Regions from separate parts of the Homo sapiens genome. Here regions 1 and 3 are each linked to region 2. The links are contacts of gene promoters, found by promoter capture Hi-C in human tissues and cell types (Jung and others, 2019). All regions are on one chromosome and are shown on one strand. Each heading gives the region's core, a stretch centred on a gene start or on the middle of the fragment in contact. The rest is flanking DNA. Distances are from core to core; before and after follow the strand shown.

The links. The method cuts DNA at HindIII sites, captures the fragments that hold promoters and counts their contacts. A contact is called where the count stands out against the background at its distance.
Region 1: a contact is called between a fragment that was not itself captured here and the fragment with the promoter of AGXT in region 2, in 1 of the 25 tissues and cell types used here (IMR-90 fibroblasts).
Region 3: a contact is called between a fragment that was not itself captured here and the fragment with the promoter of AGXT in region 2, in 2 of the 25 tissues and cell types used here (IMR-90 fibroblasts and small bowel).

What each region holds. Positions count from the first base shown.
Region 1 is chr2:241,044,401-241,048,850 of GRCh38, reverse strand. It overlaps SNED1 (sushi, nidogen and EGF like domains 1), which reads right to left. Exons shown (of 32, transcript NM_001080437.3): 9 at 411-536; 10 at 85-189. All of the region lies in intron 1 of SNED1-AS1 (SNED1 antisense RNA 1), which reads left to right. It also overlaps a transcript of MTERF4 not described here. Among named protein-coding and RNA genes, the nearest start is that of SNED1-AS1, 17 kb to the left of the region's middle. The HindIII fragment of the contact is 7,636 bases long and covers 1-4,450 here.
Region 2 is chr2:240,865,760-240,870,224 of GRCh38, reverse strand. AGXT (alanine--glyoxylate aminotransferase) reads right to left here and starts at 1,401. Exons shown (of 11, transcript NM_000030.3): 1 at 1,195-1,401; 2 at 863-1,055. The coding sequence starts at 1,359. RefSeq lists an enhancer at 1,382-1,882. The HindIII fragment of the contact is 24,692 bases long and covers 1-4,465 here.
Region 3 is chr2:241,111,683-241,116,491 of GRCh38, reverse strand. It overlaps PASK (PAS domain containing serine/threonine kinase), which reads left to right. Exons shown (of 18, transcript NM_015148.4): 13 at 1,079-1,204; 14 at 1,315-1,449; 15 at 4,053-4,252. Among named protein-coding and RNA genes, the nearest start is that of MTERF4, 12 kb to the right of the region's middle. RefSeq lists an enhancer at 4,794-4,809. The HindIII fragment of the contact is 3,445 bases long and covers 1,357-4,801 here.

The DNA.
Region 1 (4,450 bases), core at 341-2,840, 180 kb before region 2:
ACGGACCCCGGCCGAAGCCACCATTCATTTCCCGATTATGAGGATGCTCAGGGACAGGGCAGGAAGGGTGACCTGGGCACCTACCAAATTCACAGAGAAGCCCAAAGAATCCCAGGGGGCACTGGCAGAGGGTGGTGTTGGCGCCCAGGCATCTGCCTCCGTTGCGGCACTCACAGTCATCGGGGACTCCTGCCACGAAGAGAGGGAGGAGCCTCCCATGTGGGGGCGCAGAAAGATGGCACCCTCGCTCCAGACCCTGCCCTGCTCCTGGCCAACTTCCCATACAAATTGCAGTGGACGCGCACTCACACGTTTCTTTTCGGGGCGTTTCCTGCATGCACCCACAGGAAGGCCCTCCCTGGGTCTCCTGCCCCAGCCCTAAAACGGCAGCCCTTGCAGCCCAGACGCACTCTCCCTGCAGTCCAGGCCCATGAAGCCTTCGGGGCACTCGCACACGTAGCCCTGGTCCGCATCCACACAGGTGCCCCCATTGTGGCAAGGGGCCGAGAGGCAGGCGTCTGGCACTGGATGGTCTCCTGCAAGAAAGACGGCAGTCACCAGCGGCCACGCAGGGAATGTGGGGAGAGTGGTCTCCCCGCCCAGCTCCAATGGCACCTTTGGGTTTTCACCTCTGTTGTCATTCCCAAGTGGAATTTAAGCCAGAAGCTTATTTCTGGAAATGGATTTGTAGCTGCGCTGCACCCCATGGAGCTCAGCATCTCCCAGCTCCTTCCTCGACAGAACAAGAAGCACCAGAGAAACCACCCAGGATTGGACAGAACAAGAAGCACCGGAGAGACCACCCAGGATTGGACAGAACAAGAAGCACCGGAGAGACCACCCAGGATTGGACAGAACAAGAAGCACCAGAGAGACCACCCAGGATTGGACAGAACAAGAAGCACCAGAGAGACCACCCAGGATTGGACAGAACAAGAAGCACCGGAGAGACCACCCAGGATTGGACAGAACAAGAAGCACCAGAGAAGCCACCCGGGATTGGACAGAACAAGAAGCACCAGAGAAACCACCTGGGAATGGACAGAACAAGAAACACCAGAGAGACCACCCAGGATTGGATAGAACAAGAAGCACCAGAGAAGCCACCCAGGAATGGACAGAACAAGAAGGACCAGAGAGACCACCCAGGGGCCAGGGGCCTCCAAACGTTTCTGGTCAGGCATCCCTATCAGTGAAGTATTTGGGATTTTCCAGATATCTTTCTGCTGATCTCTAGTTTAATTTTGCTATGGTCAGAAAACACAATCCTTTTCAATGTATTGGGCCTTACTTATGGCTCACAATATGGCCTATGATGGCCAAGAGCACTTGAGAATAACGTGAGTGCTCTATAAATGCCAAGTAGGCCAAGCCCAAGTCTCCTCTAGCTTTACTGATTTCCTGTGTACATGTTCTATGAACCACTGAGAGGGGAGTGTCGAAATCTCCACCAATAATTATGGACCTATTTCTCCTTGCAGTTCAGTCAGCTTTTGCTTCATGTGAATAGGTGTTAATAGGTACAAGTATATCTAGAGTTATGTCTTCTGGATGAATTGACCCCTCTATCGTTATAAAAGGTCCCTCCTAATTCCCAGCAGTATTCCCCATTCTAAAGTTTAATTTATTCGATATTAATATAGCCACTGCAGCATTATCTTGATTAGTTTACCTAATTTACTTTTTTTTTTTTTTTTTTTTTTTGACAGAGTCTCGCTCTCTTGCCAGGCTGGAGTGCAGTGCAGTGGCGCGATCTCGGCTCACTGCAACCTCCAACTCCCTGGGGTTCAAGTGATTCTCCTGCCTCAGCTTCCCGAGTAGCTGGGATTATAAGCACGTGCTACCACACCCAGCTAATTTTTGTATTTTTAGTAGAGATGGGGTTTCACTCTGTTGGCCAGGATGGTCTTGATCTCCTGACCTCGTGATCCGCCTGCCTTGGCCTCCCAAAGTGCTGGGATTACAGGGGTGAGCCACCACGCCAGCTACTTTTTGGTTTTTAAAAGATGTTCAGTTTCTTCACGTGCTTTCAAAATGTGTCTTTGTAAATCAGTATACAGTAAAATTGACTTTTGTTCACCACACCTCTATGAATTTTAACACATATATAGATTTGTTTAACCCCCACCACAGTCAGGATACAGAACATTCCATCTCCCTGAAAGACTTCTTTGGTCTATCTCTTCAGAGTCACAGAGCTCCTGTTACCCCTCAGTCCCTGGCAACTACTGATTTGTTCATCACTATAGTTTTGTTTTACGAAGAATGCCATTTAGTGGAACCATACAGGATATAATCTTTGAGACTGGCTTCTTTCACTCAGCATAATTCCCCTGAGATCCATCTAAGTTGTCGTATGTATCTATAATTGGTCCTTTTTATGACTGAGTAGTATTCCACCATACAGAGGTTCCACAATTTGTCTATCCATTCACCCAGTGAAGGGTATTTGAGTTTTGGGGTTTGGTGATTATAAATAGAAATAATATAAACATCTGTATATGGATTTGTGTGTAAACATAAGTTTTCATCTCTTTAGAGTTAATACAAGGAGTGGGATTGCTGGGGCATATTATAAGCATATACTTAACCTTATAAAAAACCTGCCAAACTGTTTTTAGAGTGGCTGAACCATTTTGCATTTCCACTAAAAATGTGTGAGAGTTCCAGTTGCTCTGTATCTACACCAGGTCAGTATTATTTTTTTTAGGCATTCTAATGAGTTTGTTGTGATTCCTCGTAGTGGCTTTTATTTGCATTTCACTAATGGCTGATATTAATGACAAGAGTATTTTTCCATCCGTTTATTCACCTCCATATATGTATCTTTTGTGGCCAAGTATCCGTTCAAGTCTTTTGTCCATTTTTAAAATTGGGTTGTTTGTTTTCTCACAGTTGAGATTTGAGAATTCTTGGTGTATTCTGATCACAAGTCCTTTGTTGGGTATGAGTTTTGCAAACGTTTTCTCCTGGTCTGTAGCTTGTCTTTTTATTCTTTTAACCATGTCTTTCACAAAGCAAAAGTTTTAAATTTTGATGAAGTCTAATTTATCTTTTTCTTTTTAATGAATCATGCTTTTGCTGTCTTATCTAAGAACACTTTGCTTAAGACCAGGTCATAAATTTTTTTTTTTTTTGCCTATGTTTTCTTCTAAAAATCTTATAGTTTATGTTTTTCCATTTAGGTCTATGATCCATTTTGAGTTAATCTTTGTATAAGGTGTGAGGTTGAAGTTGAGGTTTTTTTTTTATACATATAAGGATATTTAATTGTTTCAACCCCATTTGTTGAAAAGATTATCATTTCTCCATTGGATTTAAATCTTTTTCAAAAATTAATTGGCTATATTTGTTTGGGCTTAATTCTGAATTTCCTCTCCTGTTTCATTGATCCATGTGTCAGTCCCTTTGCCAATATCACACTGAATTGATCACTGTGGCTTTACAGTAAATCTTAATACTCAGTAGTGTGATTCCTCAAAATTTATTCTTCATCAAAATTGTTTTGGTTTTCTAAATTCTTTTTCTTGCCATATAAATTTTAGAAGCAGTTTGTCTACATTTACAAAAGATTCTGCTGAGACCTCTGTTGGAATCATGTTAAATCTATAAATCAATTTAGAGAGCACTGCCATATTTACTACGTTGAGTCTTCTAATCCATGAACATGGTATGTCTGTCCATTTACTTGATCTTGATTTCTTTCATCAGCACTTTGTAGTTTTTCAGCATGCAAATTCTCTAATGTTTTAGTAGATTTATACTAAAGTCTTTCAATTTGAGAGGAGCTATTATAAATGGTATTGTCAATACAATTTAGATCAGATTACACAGATTCCTTCAACTTGGGGGAGCTCAGGAGTTCATAAGTAACTTTATGGAGTTGCTGTCCCAAGATTCACCCTCCAGTTTCCCCAGTACTTTCCAGTTTTCTGGGGCTACCTTTTTCAGTCCTCTGGCAAAAACGCTGCGGCTTTTATTTCCCTACCTTGCCACTTTTATAATGATGGCATTCATGGCTGGGACCAAGTAATGGGATGACAGACAAAGGGAAAAACAACAGGAAAGGGAAAAACAATACCCAACCCCTTTGAAACCACAGCACCTCCAACTGGAGAGGAAGGTTTCTTCCTTCGCAGTTTAAGGGCACTTGAGGATTCCCCAACTTCTGCACTGTCAGCCCTGCTTCTTAAGCTGGACTAGAGGGCTTCTCCTGGAGCACTCTTTCTGTCCGTGTGGATGCCCACTTCTGGTTTTGAGGTGGCTTTGAGTCCTGGCTGGGGGGATACCAAAGCAAAAAACAAAAAATGGTAAACTCACCACTGGTTTGGTGGTACTTCGAAGCTTGGTCTTCTTCCCCAATCCACCTGCTACTATTTACTTTTCAGAGTCCTCTGACAGCTACTCCATGCATTCTGTCCAGGATTGTAGCTGTATTCAGTGGGGGAGA
Region 2 (4,465 bases), core at 152-2,651:
GGCAGCAGCCTTGACCTCTGTTGGAGCTGGGGACTCCAGGAATCAGGCCCTCACCCCCTCCCTGTCTCTGCCCTATCCTGTGTGCTGTTCAGGGCCAGGTTGTGGGAGGGGAAGAACCTGCGGCCAAGGGGACAGAATGGGGAAAAGGGAAGCCATATACCACAGGCATCTGAGCCTGCGTGCCCTGATGTCCACTTGGGGTCCTGGCCTCTGCCGACCCTGGGTCCCCTTGAAAAGTTTGTGGACTTGGGGTTGGGACCCTCTTGGCTGTTGCGGTCGCGTATTAACCAGCATGGCCATTGTGGAGCTCACCAAGCTGATGTCCCTCAATGCCACAATCAATCATTAAACCCAGGGCACACTCCTGCTCCTGTGTCTCTCCCAGAAAAGTGTACTCCGGAGGCGAATACTCTGCCCATACCTCCATATTTTGTGTATCACATCAAGATTCCAGAAGGAAGGCTGCTGAGATTTGAGGGGAGGCTTCAGCTTCTGAAACCCCACCCTGTCACAAAGCAGAGCTGGTGCCTGGGGCCCTGGACAGCGGCCGGGGCTCTCAGGAGTGTGTGCTGGGACCAGAGGCTTCCCTGTAGTTCCGTCCTGCACATGCTCCAGAAACAGCTCAAGGAGACTGGGGGGATCGGGGCACCTGTGCTGCTCCCAGCCCTATCAGAGTCAGGCCTCATGAGTGCCCGACACCGCCTGGAGGAGGCAGTGGGCTGGCAGGAGGTTCGTGCGCACAGGGCCACAAGGTGGGTAAGCGCTCACCCAGGAACGGGGGCTGCCAGCTTCAAACAGAGGGAGGCCAGGGAGGCCTTGAAGGATGGATCCAGGGCCATCCCCACCTGGGCCTCTCCCTTACCTATGCGCTCCCCGATGTCCACGGCTCGCTGCCCCCAAATGCCATTGGCCCCAACCAGGAAGGAGTCCCCAGGCTCCAGCACATTGACCAGGGCGGCCTCCAGGGCACAGTGTCCCGAGCCAGAGATGACCAGTGTGAGTGGGTTCCTGGTCTGGAACACGTACTGGATGCCTTCCTTGATCTCGTCCATGATCTGCATGCGGGTGGTATAGGGTGAGACCCAGGCTCCCCGCCTCCCCAAGTGAGGAGGCAGTGACCCCCTTCCCTCGTCCACGATCTGTGGGTGGGAACATGGGTGAGACCCAGGCCCCCCGAGTGACCCCCACTCCTACCTGGTACATATCCTTGCTCATGGACCCGATCATCTGCAGCCCCCCGGCTGCCATGATGCGAGGAGGCAGGTTGGAAGGACCAGGCCCCAGCAGGAGCTGGTTGGGGATGGAGAGGGGCTTGAGCAGGGCCTTGGGGGGGGTCACCAGCAGCTTGTGAGAGGCCATGGTCCGCACCCAACCTGCCGCTCGGGAACCTGGGGCTGCACTGGCCTTGGCCAAAGCCTGGAATATTTCCCAGCAGGGCGGACACAGAGGTGAGAGGTGAGGATTGGTGGATGGGCTTCCGTGGCAGCCCTGCCTTTTGTTCCCTGAGGCTTATCTGTGCTTGTGCTGCGGGTCACGGCCAGGCAGCAGGGGACGAAGCCCTCAGGCAGAGGGAGCCCCCAGGGCTGAGTGACAGAAAAACAGAGTGTGACAAAGCTGTCCTCACCCCAGCCCTCCTCGCTCCCACTCTGAGTCCTGCACGTCCAGCCCCTCTTATTCTGCTTAGCTCAGGGGTGAGAGAAGTGTTTCTTAAAGGGTCGGAGCACAGATAATTGAGGCTTGGCAGGCCCTGTGGTCTATGTTGCAACAACTCAACCCTGCTGCGTGCTTGCAAAGCAGCTGCCAGAGGTGTGGGCGTGTTCCTATAAAACTTTATTTACAAAAAGCAGGTGGCAGGCCAGATTGGGCCCATGGACTGTGGTTTGCTGACCCTGGCGCAGCTGATGGGAAGGCTTGTAAACCAAAAATAAAATTCGAAGGCCCCCCAGCAACCATCTGAATGGGGTTCCCTGTCCGCCAGGGTGCTCTAAACTTTAACCCGGAAGACGTTCAGGCCATGCCACATCATAACCCCCAGCATTAACATCGACATAGACCTTAAGTCTGATAGGAAGCATTTACCATCTATTTTCTCTCTAAATCCCGCTACCTGAAGGCATCATCTGCTCCCTGCAACCCCTATTTCATAACCCAGACACTCCTTTCTGCTGATAATAATTCTTCAGTCAGTTGCCAATCAAAATATGTTTAAATCTACCTATGACCTGGAAGCCCCCCAATTCAAGTTGTCCCGCCCTTCCAGATGGAACCAATGTAAATCTCCCATGTATTGATTGATGCCTCATATCTCCCTAAAATGTATAAAAGCAAGCTGTGCCCCGACCACCTTGGGCCCTTGTGGTCAGGGGTGCACCCTTGAGCTTGGCAAGGATGTCCTCCCTCCTGAGGCTGTACCACGGGTGCATCCTTAGCCTTGGCAACAAAAACTTTCTAAATTAATTGAGACCTGTTTGAGGTACTTTTTGGTTTACAGGCTCAATTTAGCAAGCAAACCTGCATGGTATACAGACACACACAAGGCAGGGGTTGCACAGTGAGTTTCAGCATGCTGCATTCCAGAGATGTATAGAAATTCTAGTTATGTATAAGTTTTAGGTTGAAAAGAGGCCTGGAACCAGGTGCCAACTTTAGATAATAGGGAAGTCTAATTCATTCTACATTTCTCAAATAAAGAGGCTCCCCTCCACCCACCCCACCTGGGGCCTGCTTGATGGTCTCCAGGTGATCTTTGCTGTCCTCATTTTCCCTCTGACAAATATCTTGGTGAAATCTTTGACCCTTCCTTTTCTGCCATGCTCATGTCCACCTGCTTCCTGTTGGGGTCTCAAGAAAGGGGAAACGGCACAGTGAAGAGGGGTGTCCAGTGCGCCTGACTACTTGCTGCTGAAAGGGAGTTCAGGGGGGTAGGTCACGTTTTTCCCTTTCTTGCTCTCGGTCATGAAGGGAATAAAGGGTCATGAAAACTTGTGCACGGAGGCACGTGATGGGATTCCATCAAGAAGCCCCACGTAAATGGGAGCTGCAGTTGCAGGCCGGTATTTCCATCAAGAAGCCCCATGTAAATCGAGCTGCAGTTGCAGGCCAGTGTTGGGAATGCATAGCCTTCTGCAGGTGGAATTGTTCTCATGTAGAACATAGAAAAGCAATCAGAGCATTAAAAAGGCAGGGACCAAATATTAAAAGAAAAATGACAGAAGATAAAGGTCTAAGGAATGGGGGAAGCCAAGTGATTTTTTGAAAACCAATCAGTAAAAGTTTTGGCCCAGTCTTGGTTGCTTTGGGAAAGTGTGTGTAGCCATTTGGCTTGTTTGATGATTTCTTGGGCATCGGTTTCCACTTCTCCAGACACATAAATGTAGGTGCAACGGGTCCTGTTGATGACAGCACAGACCCCTCCTTGTTCAGCTAGGAGGTAATCCAGAACTCACCTGTTACCAGACACCAAAATCCTGCTTGTGAGTCTAATGACTTGTAGAGCTGATAGATGGGTGCCAGCTTTTGCTATTTCAAGGGAGGCGGTAGGTTCTCTTACTTGTGATTTCCTGGTAAGTAAAACCTCCCCAAGGGGTAAGAGTTGTGATAGTTCCCACAACTCCGGCCACAGTAAGTCCCAGGGCCCTTTTCCTTCTAGAAGGGAATTCTGAATTAGAAGTGATGTTTAAGACAGTGATTTGGGTGGGAGCTATTGTTCCCAGGCTACAATCACCATAGTGAAGAGAATGATCAAGGTGGGATAGGGCCAAAGCTTGAAAAGGGTTTAAATAGTTTTTAGTGGGGCTGCTAAGCCATAAGAGCCCAGGAGGGGCAGGATGATTATTTTAATTAAAATGTTGGGAAAAAAGGAAATGGGCCTTTTGACAGTTTTAAGAGGACTCATATGGGGGAAAGACTATGTTTATGTACTGATGGAGGAGGTTTAAAAGCAGGCGGGTGCCAGTGCATGGCATAGGATGTAAACCAGGTGGCACGGTGGTTATTTCCTGCACTGGTTGCATCATTATAGTAACATACATGAAGGTATTAGGAGTGCAGGGGTGCTGTATACTGGGAGCCCCACTATACTGGTCCAGTTTAACGGCTTATAAATTGGCAGTGATGAGATAGAGTCAGATTTTTTTTTTTTTTTTTTTTGAGATGGAGTCTCACTCAGTTGCCCAGGCTGGAGTGAAGTGGTGTGACCTTGGCTCACTGCAACCTCTGCTCCTGGGTTCAAGCGATTCTCCTGCCTCAGCCTCCTGAGTAGCTGGGATTACAGGCACCTGCCACCACGCCCTGCTAATTTTTGTATTTTTAGTAGAGACAGGGTTTCACCATGTTGGTCAGACTGGTCTCGAACTCCTGACCTCAGGTGATCCACCCACCTCTACCTCCCAAAGTGTTAGGATTACAGGTGTGAGCCAGCGCACCTGGCCAGAGTCAGAGTTTTGATTGTAGGAGGCGAAGGCCT
Region 3 (4,809 bases), core at 1,830-4,329, 240 kb before region 2:
GAGAAGTCGGGGTGACGTGGATGTTCTCCGGGGCACATGCCCTGAGGCCTCTGGGGCCCTCTCTCCAGCCCAGGTTATGGCTCCCTCAGCTCCACCTGGATTCTCCATCTCACCCATCTGTCCACCTTACAGAATGGGCAGTAATGACGCTGCATTTCTGGTCAGCTGCTGACCCCCTTCTGTGCTTCCTTGTGCTGCAGGCGTTTATCACTTTGTTTCTTCTTTCATGTCCGTGGGACTTAGGGGAGGTAAATGCAGGGGATGTGTCTGCCGCATGGACCAATGGTGGCCCTGGTGTAATGGGATGCTTGAGGACTGGGTGGCCCTGGTGGAATGGGATGCTTGAGGACTGGGTGGCCCTGGTGTAATGGGATGCTTGAGGATTGGGTGTCCCTGGTGTAATGGGATGCTGGAGGACTGGGTGTCTCTGGTGTAATGGGATGCTTGAGGACTGGGTGGCCCTGGCGTAATGGGATGCTTGAGGACCGATGGTGGCCCCTGGTGTAATGGGATGCTTGAGGACCAGGTGGCCCCGGCGTAATGGGATGCTTGAGGACTGATGGTGGCCCCTGGTGTAACGGGATGCTTGAGGACCGAGTGGCCCCTGGCGTAACGGGATGCTTGGGGACCGGGTGGCCCCGGCGTAATGGGATGCTTGAGGACTGGGTGGCCCCTGGTGTAACGGGATGCTTGGGGACCGGGTGGCCCTGGCGTAATGGGATGCTTGAGGACCGGTGGCCCCTGGTGTAACGGGATGCTTGGGGACCGGGTGGCCCCGGTGTAATGGGATGCTTGAGGACTGGGTGGCCCTGGTGTAATGGGATGCTTGAGGACCGGGTGTCCCTGGTGTAATGGGATGCTTGAGGACTGGGTGTCCCTGGTGTAATGGGATGCTTGGGGACCGGGTGGCCCTGGTGTAATGGGATGCTTGGGGACCAGGTGGCCCTGGTGTAATGGGATGCTTGAGGACCGGGTGGCCCTGGTGTAATGGGATGCTTGAGGACTGGGTGGCCCTGGTGCAATGGGATGCTTGAGGACTGGCTCCAGCTATTTCCACTACGCTCTGTCTTCCTCACAGGTGGTGGTGAAGTTTATTAAGAAGGAGAAGGTCTTGGAGGATTGTTGGATTGAGGATCCCAAACTTGGGAAAGTTACTTTAGAGATCGCAATTCTATCCAGGGTGGAGCACGCCAATATCATCAAGGTGATGGTTTCCTCTTCAGAGATACCCTAACTTGGCTCATGTCAAATGTCTTCAATTTGTTGACTTGAAGATGTTTTGGTAGAGTTGGACTTGGCTTTGTCTCTTCCTAGGTATTGGATATATTTGAAAACCAAGGGTTCTTCCAGCTTGTGATGGAGAAGCACGGCTCCGGCCTAGACCTCTTCGCTTTCATCGACCGCCACCCCAGGCTGGATGAGCCCCTGGCGAGCTACATCTTCCGACAAGTGAGAGCAGGCCAGAGCCGTGTTAGTGTGAACGCAGGCCTGGGTGCCTGGGTCCGGTGGCTGCAAAGATCAGTGATCCATACTCGGTTCTCTCTCTGAGCTGGATCTAGCCTTCTGTGTGGGGATTTCATGGAGTAGGATATATATTTTGAGAAGAAAATTCTATGATTGAAGTAGAGAAAGTGAGGTTGGGAAGGAAGGATGAGGCCAGATACAGTCCTGGAATGACTGAGAAAGTATGTTTAATGGTTAAGGTTTATTTACATACATAAAATATCCACAACAATCATAAAAATTAACCAGTAAGGGTTAGGATGCAGCCAGAGAGCGTCTCAAAGGCATGTGTGCGGCACAGCGGCCTGCAGGTTGTAAGTGCCCACTAAATGGTGGCTGTTGAGGTAATTAACCAGCAAAACTGAGATCCTGACATTCTCACTTTTCAGTAAGTATTTGTCTTGATCTGTTTCGTGTCTAATTACATATTGAACTTCGGCCATTATTTTATTGGAATGGGAGAGTGATGATCCAAATAGGAAGGCACCCTAGCAGAGGGACAGGGGGAAGAAACGGTAACTCGTGTTGGGTTTTAAGGAGAGGGTGGCGGTTCCATCCTGTACTGCTCCCAGCTCCCCCAGAAGAACTGGAGAAATACCAGCAAAGGGCTGTGTAGACAACTCACATTTGCTCTTGGATTGTTTGCTGGGGACAACTCGATTTCTAATGACAGCTTCCGTGAATCAACATTTCTTCCTTAAAGCTACACACTCTCGGGTTGTTGGGTTTCCGAAGTTTAGTTTCTCAGGCTCCTACTTGTAAGTTTCAGATATTATGGTTCTGCAAAAAAGGGTCACCTCTCTCCCTCTTCCTGTGTTGGAAGGTGACGTCCTCCCTTTAGTTTGTGGCCAACACTTGTTTCTGAAACTTTTTACAGCAAACAGAGTATCTGTATGAGGTTATGTTGAGGGTCGCTTGTTAAAAGCTGCTGCCTGACAGCTGTTAATTCTGGGGCTAGTGAGACACATAATTATGGTGTTTATACTCTAAAATTTTTGCCAAAAGAATCTCTACCCCTTTTGTAAATATATAGACATAAATGTTATTCTATGTAAATACAGATGCACAATTTTATAAAGTATATGATCGCACATCAATGTATGTAGGAATCATGCTGGTTCTCAGGGCATTGCCTGTCAGCTCCAGATTCATCAGGACCTGCTCAGCAGCGGGGTCGGGGAGCTGGGCCTGGGAACAGCCCTGGCTTGGTTCAGGCCGCTCCAGGGCAGCATGGCCAGTCCAGGGCACAGAAGCATCTGCAGGAAGAGCAGCTTTCTTCAAGTCGCTCTTTAGCCCTTTGTGGTTAATCTCTCAGTACTAGTTAATAAATCTTAATGAAACTTTCCATGTTCAAGTTCATGTGTGATTTCTGTCTCCTGATTGGATCCTGACTGATTTGTATATATCTACATATATATGTAAGTATGTATGCATGCATGCTTGTATATGTGTATTTATGTGTGTACCTATGTACAAGTATATGTTATGTGTATAGGTATGCACACGTGTGTATGCAGGTGTGTATATATGTGCACATGTATGTATCTAAATGTATGTATAAATATGCAGGTATGTATATATAAATATGCAGGTATGTATATATAAATATGCAGGTATGTATATGTTTGTATATATGTGTATAAATATGCGTATATTTATTAAATGTAAGTTAATCGGGCTTAGCTAACCTGTGATTATTGCTCCTGATTTGAAAGATACTCATTTGTAAATATAAATTTGTCTCAAAAGATCAACATGATACATCCATGAAGTCACTAAGTTGATTGGTATAATGGGTGTCCAAATTATGACAGTCAGACGTTTAATTCATCCTAGTTGAGCTAAACTGAAAGGCCGATGTTGCTGGCCTCTGTTATTGGAGAGGCAGAGTGGGCAGGCAGTGGAGCACTGCAGCTGCACCTCCGTGGGAACGAAGCCCGTTTCCAGTGTAACTGCTTTAAGTCTGCATCATTGAGTAGCCACACATTTGGGGAAAGGATGGCTGATACGTCATGCTGCTCTCTGAGAAGCCACTGAGGCTGTGCTCCCAGCTCTGCCCCAAATTGCTGCCTGAACTCTGGGCAAGTCACTTTCCCTCCCTGTGAGCTGAGGTTATCGACTTGGTGCTTTCTCTTGGGTACTTCCCACTTAACACCAAACCTGCACCCATTCACTTGCCCACCATGAGTGTCTTTGAGCTGTGGCTTTGTGGCCTGTCTTTCCTCCTGAAATAGGCATGGTGTGCGTTGGTGGGGGCGAGTGTCTGCTGGGAAGCTTTTCTCAGCAGCAAACAGAACTCACGAGTCTCATTGATGTTGCCACCTTGCCGGCTAACGTGGCCATCCCCAGTGAACACGCCTCCTGAAGGGCTTTGTTTCCTGTTTGCTTCCAATCATATCTTCAGCATTGAAAAATCTTTCCTGTCCCCAGTTCATTATGAGTCGGAGGTTTATTTTTTCTTTGTGTTTTTTTTTGTTCCAGTTTATTTTAAATGCATATTTTAGTTGAATTGCTTTTTTAAAAAGCCCCCTCTGGCCTCCTGATTCCAGCTAGTGTCAGCAGTGGGATACCTGCGCTTGAAGGACATCATCCACCGTGACATCAAGGATGAGAACATCGTGATCGCCGAGGACTTCACAATCAAGCTGATAGACTTTGGCTCGGCCGCCTACTTGGAAAGGGGAAAATTATTTTATACTTTTTGTGGGACCATCGAGTACTGTGCACCGGAAGTTCTCATGGGGAATCCGTACGTATGCGGCTGCGGTGCGGCCCGTCCTCGTGTCCTCTGTCAGGACCCTGAGGGTGGCTTGATTTTGGGTGGGAAAATGGCTTCCTTTGTGCCTCTTTGTGATGAGTGTTGAGTGGTCAGGGTGATATGCTGGAAAGTAAGTGGGCAGGCAGGCAAGGTCATATTGGGCAAAGGCACTGGGCGATGGATATAGGAGTTAATAATTTTATTTTCTCAGCTTTTATTTGTTTGGAGTTTCATATAATAAAAAGCCAAGAAAAATATTGAAGAGTCCCCCAAAATGGCACTCTTCAAATAAGTGAAGAGGATTCTTTTTAGTTAGGTTTATTTATTTTGATGACAGGAATAATATCTATTTCAATAAAATACCGCGGGGCTGACCATACAAGAAATCAAGCACTAGAGAAAGTCCCGAGGCAGAGGATTCGTGCTGAAGGTGGAGCCCTTGGCTGGAGGGGCTGTCGCTGACCAGCCAGACTCCATGTCACTGGAGTGGGCCAGCTGAGCCTCTGCTCTGCTGTGGGGAGAAGCGGCGTCCTTGGGTGTGTGGCTGA